Linked DNA regions of Homo sapiens: all the other regions are linked to region 2. Evidence: promoter capture Hi-C in 16 types of primary human blood cells and fetal thymus (Javierre and others, 2016). All regions are on one chromosome and are shown on one strand. The core of a region is centred on a gene start or on the middle of the fragment in contact, and the rest is flanking DNA. Distances in the headings are between cores, read along the strand shown. Region 1 holds the start of DHX29 (DExH-box helicase 29). Region 2 holds the start of DIMT1 (DIM1 rRNA methyltransferase and ribosome maturation factor). Region 3 holds the start of SLC38A9 (solute carrier family 38 member 9).

Region 1 (2,700 bases), core at 112-2,611, 7.1 Mb after region 2:
CTTTTATAACACTTAATTGTATATATCATTCATTTTAAGTTAACGACCTCCTCACCTATACTGTAACTCTTTAATGGGTACCTGTTCTCTTTCCCTACACCGAAAATTCCTTGAGAGCAAAATCATGTCTAATTTAATTTCAAGCATCTATTGGGTATCTGGCCCCACAATGCCAAGAGTATATTTTGTTGATTGTTAATTAATCATCTTACTTTATTTAATACAAGTAATAGCTTTTCCTTGTTCTACTATAAACAGATCTGTACACTTTCTGGTGGCTGTATGCACCAGTCTAAACATATGGGTAGGGTCCAGTAATTTTTAAATTTTTTCTCAATAAACTCACGATAGCTACCATTTATTAGTGATAGCTAGCTAACCACTGTTAGGCACTTTACACGTGTATCTCATTGAATCCTCATATCCACCAGTGGTAGGCACTATTATCTCCATTTTACGGAAGAGAAAACTACTACATCTTGGAGATTAAATGTCTCTCCCTTCTCATGTTATTATCTGCCCTTTCCCCTCCAAATCAATTCATATCATTTTTTCTAAACCTTTTCACCTTTTACTCAACTAATCATTCGTTTTGTTTATTAACGACTATGTGCCAGGTGTTGTGCTGATGCAGGAGACAACCGCGAAGATGGGGACAGAATCAGTAACATCGACGTAAGGGAATTGAAGCAGAAGATCACGCTGCCTGCAGACACCAGGAAACGCCAAGACCCCCCTTCCACGAACCAACATTCTTCCACCCTCTCCAACTTTTTTCTGGAACCCCTTCACTTCCAACGCCACTCAATGTACACTTCACTTTCTCGTGCTCTTCCTAAGAGAGTAGTGTTTTCTTCCTCCCCACCGAGAAAAAAAATAAAAGCAACAACTGGAACTTCTTCCTTACCCTGCCTTGTCTGCAGACCCTGGAGGCCCCTTCCATTTCCCCTTGTCCTTTTCCTTGTCTTTTTTGGTTCCCGCCGCAGTGGTCGAGTCGCCCTCGAACACGCTGAACAGCTCATCTCCGAATGCGTCCGCCATTTTTGGGAGCAGTGAGAGCAAATCTCCCTCCTACCCACGATGCCCCGCGACCGAAGACAGTGACGTCTCGTGAAGGCTCAACAGTGGCCCGCAGGAGACAAAAGTAGTCGAGTCGCGCAGCCGACAAAAATGTTCCCCTGACTTTTTTTTTTTTTCCTGCTTTTCTTTCCTTTCCTTTCCGACCTAAAGTGGATAAGCTGCTCAGTGGATAAAGAGCGAGGGCGGCGCGTGGCGCCTGGCGTGTGGCAGGCAGCTGGCGACTCAAGGAGGCGGAGCCTGCTGAATTCGACCAATTGCGAGGCAGCGGTCGCCCCGGCCCGAGAAGCCCGGATCGAAGCGCAGGGTGGCAGCCCCGGAGCCGGGGAATGTGAAGAGCTCTCGGCTGTGCAGTGGTACCGTCGGGGCCTGGGCCGCGAAGGATCTTCTGCCACAGCTGCAACATGGGCGGCAAGAACAAGAAACACAAGGCTCCAGCGGCCGCGGTGGTCCGGGCCGCCGTGTCTGCTTCCAGAGCCAAATCTGCCGAGGCTGGAATTGCCGGGGAGGCCCAAAGCAAGAAGCCAGTGTCCAGGCCGGCCACCGCTGCCGCTGCCGCTGCCGGCTCCAGGGAGCCCCGTGTCAAGCAAGGTACGAGAGGTCCCCCAGCCCCTGGCTGTCTGCCCTGAGACCTTGCTGCTTGTCCTGAGGAAAGGGCCTTAGAACCCGGGAGGAGCTTCGGGCCCAACATTTCTATTTCCCAACACTCGAGCTGCTACCTCCCCATGGGGTGGCCTTGTTTTAGATTAAAAAAGTCTAAGCTCTTTGGGCCTCCAAAATTCTGACAGTAGCCCTGTTGCAGCCTGGCATTTCTCTTTTAACTCACACTTCTCCCCCTTCTAAAAACAAAATAATTGCATTAGCTCCTGTTTCAGCAGGAATTCATCCTGAGCACCATCTCAGCTAGCTAGGCTAACGCAAAGACGAGTACTGAGTGGAGTTCCTGACCTCCTGGTGCCAGCCAGCCCCATTTTCTGTCAGTTTTTCATATCATTTTCAGCAACAATCTAGTGTCTCCATGCGTTCTGGAAAAATCAATACTTAATAAAAATTACAGGACTTACACACTGGTTACACACTGGTTACGTGTAATCTATTGTAAAATTGTCTGCCCTCGTTTCTGCCGCCATGCAGTTTTGCTTACTGTACAAATTGATTTGACAACTCAACTTATAGATGGCCGATTCCTGCTGCAGATGAGCAGGCCACATATTACGGTTGAGCTCAAAAGATGAACAATTACATTCTGTTGTGTTCTTCTCGGGTTGTTTGCTTGTACTTATTGGAGTATTCAAGAAATATTTGCTGAGCATTTATGTGTATATATGCAAATATTTAGTATGTGTCTGATAAGATGTGAGGAATGTGATGAGCAAAAAGAGACATCACCTCATGGAGCTTGCCAGTCTAATGTCAGAGATAGGTATTAACTAATAGGTAACGCACACAGACATATTTATAGCCTTATAATAGATAAGTGCCACAAAGAAAAGCCAGGGAAGACAGTTTAACAGGGTAATCTAATTTTTCTCGGGATGAGCAGGTATCATGGATGGTGTCTGGAAATGTAACAGTTAAGCTGAGATGAGGAGAATGAAAAAGGAGTTAACTCTGTGAAGCATG
Region 2 (2,850 bases), core at 134-2,633:
TTTTCTGACTTAGAACTACATCAAAGAAAGAAGGGCCTAAGACCAAGGTTTGGGAATGTACACAATGAATTGCTCAAAAGAGAGTTAGCTTTAGTAATGACAGGAAGAAGCTATTTCTTCAACCAAACAGAATACACACAGAAAAATTTAAAAGAGCCATTACACTGGCTGGCAAAACAGATGTGGATATTATGGCCCTGGTACACACGGAGTTTATAGTCAGGTACACTGTCCTGTCACAACGACCAATACGTTATCGTATTTACAGCGTTTTGGAGTTTCTGTCCATCTCTGTCAATATAATACACTTTGAAATAAGTTTCTTACTTAGAATCCCTAGCAGTGTTTGATACACAGTTGGAGCTCAATAAATGTTTACGGAGTGAATGATGAGGCACAAAAGGAATTTGTTGAATTATTTGTTAAATGAATCAAATAATTTTCTAGGATTCACGGGCTGTCTTCTGCACGATAAGCTTCATTCTGTGGGTCTGAGTTTCTCCTGGTTCTCAATTCTGTCTTTTTGTGGATTATCTACTTTGTAGCTGGAGCTTTGTATCTGTTTAAGATAATTATTCTTCTATTCCTTTTTTTTTTTTTTTTTTTTTGAGACGGAGTCTCGCTCTGCCGCCCAGGCTGGAGTGCAGTAGCGCGATCTCGGCTCACTGCAACCTCCGCCTCCTGGGTTCACGCCACTCTCCTGCCTCAGTCTCCCAAGTAGCTGAGACTACAGGCGCCCACCACCACGCCCGGCTAATTTTTTGTATTTTTAGTAGAGACGGGGTTTCCCCGTGTTAGCCAGGATGGTCTCGATCTCCTGACCTTGTGATCCGCCCGCCTCTGCCTCCCAGAGTGCTGGGATTACAGGCGTGAGCCTCCGCGCCCGGCTCTTCTATTCTTAGTAGAAGCAACCAGTAGCCCTAGCGAAACCAGACGTTAATTCCATTCTCGCAGTTCTTTTCCCCAGGGCAAGCAGCAAAAAATGCATTCCCACAAAAGAGCAAGCTCATCCCCAAATCCCGGGTTTCCCACCCCCACAAGCTTCAGGAAAACAGGAGCGAGGCACGTGAATACTTCTTTGGACCTCAGCGATCCCAGAACCTAGGCTACTAAAACATCCATAGGCTTAACCTCATCATATAACTTAAACAGCCTTCGCAACACCGAGAGCACCACACCAACACCTTCTTATCCAGCCCTGGTTGGGACAAGGGCTCCAACTCCAGACTGCAGTCCTCGGTAGCGCGGTGTCTTCTGGGATCTGTAGGCTCCCGCGGTTCGGCCTTCCTCCCTCTGTGACTCCAATTCCCGGCAGTCAGTGGGCTCCAAGGTCCGCCCTTTTTCTGGAGGAGGAGCTCAGAGCGTACGGGAGGGGGCGGACCCTTGCCCCTCCGGCGCTTGGGCCAGAGTGGTGCGGGCGGCGCGTGGCGGCGATCCCCACGTGGTGGCTTTCTCACGCTAGCCCTCTTTGGTCCTCCTTGACGTCCCGGGCCTGTGGGCCCGCTTTCTGCCGAGATGCCGAAGGTCAAGTCGGGGGCCATCGGCCGCCGCCGCGGGCGGCAGGAGCAGCGCCGGGAGCTGAAGAGCGCTGGAGGTGCGGATCCCCGCGAGGAAGCTGGGGTCGGTCGGGTCAGGTCTTCCGGCAGGACCTAGCCTGGGGTGCGGACCAAGACCTGATCGGCAGAGGCCGGTCAGGACGCGCTCCCGTGAGCGCGGAAGGCAGGGGTGGGTCCCCGACTCGGCCGCAGGCCCTGCGCGTCGCCGCTGACTTCCTTTCCAGCTGGAGGATGAACTTATAAAGAGTTTGTCAGTCCTGGCGTGACGTTTCGTGGCCCTGGTTGGCGCAGAAATCTTCCCCATACCCATGCAGCTTTCTTCTCTGGTACTGCCTAATATCTAATCTCAGTAGGAAAATTAATGCTGTTTCGTATTTTCTTACAGGACTCATGTTCAACACGGGGATTGGGCAGCACATTTTGAAAAATCCTCTCATTATTAACAGCATTATCGATAAGGTGGGTGTGGAAGAGGAAAGGGAGAGAGTTGTTGGTTTATTAATTTTATTCCTATGAATACATAAGCGCAGAAAGTCTGCCTGCCGTAAATTAGATGCTCTGTAAATATTTGTTGAATGAATCAAATAATTGTCTAGGATTCTTGGGCTGTCTTCTGCATGATAAGCTTCATTTTGTGGGTCTGAGTTTCTCCTGGTTCCCAATTCTGTGTCTTTTTGTGGATTATCTACTTTATAGCTGGACCTTTGTATTTGTTCAAGATAATTATTCTTCTATTTCTAATCACCTTTTTGATCACTTAGTTTTTATGTACTCCATCTATTTATGTCTAAACTACACATTAGAAAGTTTGTTCCCCAGAAAAACATATAGTACTACATATAAATTATTTGGTGTATGCTAGTACCACATATAAATTGCTTGGAGTATTACTGCTTTCTGAGTTATTGATGTTCTCTTATGGTTATGGATGATTGGGTGTTAGGAAGTGAAATACACACGGTGCAGATTACACTTATGGTTAAAAGCAAGGAAAGCATCCTGGAGCTGTAGAAAGAGCATTACATAGTTAAAGGATCTTGTCAGGCTTCGTGTCATTTGAAAACTGAGAAAAAAAGAAAGAAGGGTCATGTACTATTTTAACCTTTTTAGCTCATAGTTTCCTTTGAGCATCTGATGAAAGCTATGGCCGTAGAATATTAGAGCTGTGTGCAGACATTCAATTTTGTGTACAGTTTCTGCTCTTCTGCATCCTTGAAACCATACATGGGTTGAAAATTGAAAAATCTTCGCCCAACACGTACAGTCCTTTCCCATTTGAACTTGTTGATACGAA
Region 3 (2,783 bases), core at 228-2,727, 6.7 Mb after region 2:
CTGGGTATGTGGGGTGGGCCTCTAAAATCCTTCTAAAGCCCCTTTTAGCCTAGAGACTAATTTGCAAACACATTTTTAAAAAACAAACCCAAATATCTAGACGACGGAGGGAGCATGCCAACTCAACAGTTTTTTCAAACCAGCTTCCCTTTGTGTCTGTAGGGTCCAAGGACGTAACCAGATCATACAACACGCGCCAGGAAAGCCCAAAAGAGGGGTGATCCCTCGATGGAGGTGCCGCATCAGCGTTTTCTCACGTGGCCTCCGGGGCTCTATGAATGGCAAGAGATTGCATTCCTTCTACTACCCCTCCCAGCCTCCAGCCGGGACAAGGAACTGGAGCAAACTCGGGGCTGCAGTTCCGACTGGACTCGCCCACCTGGGCGCGCCGGCTGCCCAGCCTCCTGAAGCCTCGGGGCTGGGCCCTGCGGTGATGGGCGTGCTGGCCGTCGCAGAGCCCTCTGGGAGTTGTAGTCCGTAGCGGCGAGAGGTTTGACAGCGACCGCGGGCTTGGCGCATTCAGAACTCCAACTCCCGCCGGCCCCTGCGACCCAGGCTATTGCCGCTTCCTGTTTGGACTAGGAGCCCCGCGGTCGCAAATTGCGAGAATTTGGGAAGGGAATCTTTATCTTCTCGTCTAGTTCTCCGAGGTTGAAGGCTCGGCCTGCTCAGGTAGATCACGTTCCCACGTCTAGCAAACTCGCCCCTCGGGGAGGTGGGAAGGTATCCGAGGGAAGGCGGCGGGAAGGGTTGAAGTTGGGGCGAAGCCGGCTGTCACCTGGGATAGTTCTTTGCAGCGCATCGGAACCGTCTCTTCTTTTGGGGCTCAGGGAGGCCATAGCCTGGAGCCGCGGAGACTGCTCCGGAGGCACGGCGCGCGCTCCTCAAGGGCTCAGGGAAAGAAAGTCAGGAGTCCCTCGGGGTCTGAGGAAATCCGAGTGTCTATGGGAGTCGGTGTCAGCTGGAGCCTTAGAGAAAAGATAGGGTTGGGGTAAATGAACACCCTGACCCTCGGGTGAGAGAAGGAGGGAGTAGGAGAATTGTGGGACTTGCAGGAATGGGAGCACCCTTCTTTCTCTCTCTTGAGATAGGGTCTTGCTCCGTCGCTTGGGCTTGAGTGAGGTGGCGCGATCACGGCTGGGAGCACCTTTCTCCATCCCGAGTTGGGGACATCTAGAGGGGGAACATGAGGGAGGAACCCCCTTTGGGCCTTGAGCTAGGACCACAGAGGGGGTGAGGGCCATGACTGGTAAGCCCTCGCCACGCTTTTCACACGACTCAGTTGTGAGAGTGAGTGTGTTGATAGTGGGTAGCTTGACATCTCAGCATAGTAAAGCTGGAAGAGGGGTTTGAGAGCAGCTAGTCAAGCGCATTCTCCTCATTTTACAGAGAAGGAAACTGAGGTCCACCGAGTTGGAGAAACCTACTCAACACCAGGTAACCATTTAATGGCAAACTCGACCAACACCTAATTGTCATGACTCCCAGGCAGTGTCTTATCCATTGCCGTGCTCTGTAGATGAGCACACTATAAGTTGTAAGTTGTACCTCCACCTTGTTTTCTTTTTTCTTTTCTTTTCTTTCTTTTTTTTTTTCAGACAAGAGTCTCGCTCTGTCGCCCAGGCTGGAGTGCAGTGGAGTGATCTCGGCTCACTGCAACCTCCGCCTCCCTGGTTCAAGCGATTCTCGTGCCTCACCCTCCTGAGTAGCTAGGATTACAGCTGCCCGCCACCACGCCCCGCTAATTTTTGTATTTTTAGTAGAAACGGGGTTTCACCATGTTGGCCAGGCTGGTCTTGAACTCCTGATCTCAAGTGATCCGCCTGCCTTGGCCTCCCAAAGTGCTGGGATTACAGGCGTGGGCCACTGCGCCCAGCCTCTTTTTTCTTTTTAATACCTTCAGACATGACAAAGATCTGACATATGTAGGATAGGCAGCTGCTGAGGAGAAAGATTTTTTAAAAACGTTTTGGCCAGGTGCCGTGGCTCACGCCTGTAATCCCAGCACTTTGGGAGGCTGAGGCAGGCAGATCACGAGGTCAAGAGATCAAGACTATCCTGGCCAATATGGTGAAACCCCGTCTCTACTAAAAAAAAATACCAAAATTAGCCAGGTGTGGTGGCACATGCCTGCAGTCCCAGCTACTCAGGAGGCTGAGGCAGGAGAATCGCTTGAACCCAGGAGGCGGAGGTTGCAGTGAGCTGAGATCGTGCCACCGCACTCCAGCCTGGTGACAGAGTGAGGCTCCGTCTCAAAAAAAACAAAAACAAAAACTAAACAAAAAAAGTTTCAATAGGTCAAAATTACCCATGTCCTAACTTGAGAAAAATCTCTCTGCCTCATAAACAACTACAAACTTCGTGTTAAGATAGAAGGTTCGGCGGATTGCGGTGGCTAACGCCTGTAATCCCAACACTTTTGGGAGGCTGAGGTGGGCGGATCATTTGAGGTTAGGAGTTCAAGACCAGCCTGGCGAACATGGTGAAACCCTGTCTCTACTAAAAATACAAAAATCAGCCAGGTGTGGTGGTATGCGTCTCATCTGTAATCCCAGCTACTTGGGATGCTGAGGCAGGAGAATTGCTTGAGCCCGGCAGGCGGAGGTTGCAGTGAGCCAAGACTGCACCACTGCACTCCAGCCTGAGCCACAGAGGGAGATCCTGTCTTAAAAAAAAAAAAAAAAAAGTTGTCACCTATATAGTTGCTTTGTTTCTAAGAAAATAAAATTTACCTTTCCTTCCCCTAGACTTCTGAGAACAGTTAGACTTAGATTCCTTTTCTT

What was found. Contacts are between HindIII fragments. The CHiCAGO score rates a contact against its expected background, and 5 or more counts as called.
Region 1: a contact is called between the fragment with the promoter of DHX29 here and the fragment with the promoter of DIMT1 in region 2, in 2 of 17 cell types (total B cells and monocytes). The highest score is 10.9, in total B cells.
Region 3: a fragment that was not itself captured here is called in contact with the fragment with the promoter of DIMT1 in region 2 in 2 of 17 cell types (total B cells and naive B cells); the score reaches 11.6 in total B cells.

The regions. Positions count from the first base shown.
Region 1 is chr5:55,306,355-55,309,054 of GRCh38, reverse strand. DHX29 (DExH-box helicase 29) reads left to right here and starts at 1,361. Exons shown (of 27, transcript NM_019030.4): 1 at 1,361-1,668. The coding sequence starts at 1,482. MTREX (Mtr4 exosome RNA helicase) reads right to left here and starts at 1,066. Exons shown (of 27, transcript NM_015360.5): 1 at 908-1,066. The coding sequence starts at 1,041. It overlaps LOC124900979 (a long non-coding RNA gene), which reads left to right. Exons shown (of 2, transcript XR_007058774.1): 2 at 618-906. RefSeq lists enhancers at 813-1,292, 1,433-1,692. The HindIII fragment of the contact is 7,705 bases long and covers 1-2,700 here.
Region 2 is chr5:62,402,438-62,405,287 of GRCh38, reverse strand. DIMT1 (DIM1 rRNA methyltransferase and ribosome maturation factor) reads left to right here and starts at 1,383. Exons shown (of 12, transcript NM_014473.4): 1 at 1,383-1,594; 2 at 1,942-2,015. The coding sequence starts at 1,516. RefSeq lists an enhancer at 1,173-1,462. The HindIII fragment of the contact is 1,140 bases long and covers 1,044-2,183 here.
Region 3 is chr5:55,710,106-55,712,888 of GRCh38, reverse strand. It overlaps SLC38A9 (solute carrier family 38 member 9), which reads left to right and starts at 565. Exons shown (of 16, transcript NM_173514.4): 1 at 565-672; 2 at 1,390-1,437. RefSeq lists enhancers at 1-302, 138-327, 418-467, 1,038-1,117. The HindIII fragment of the contact is 3,721 bases long and covers 1-2,783 here.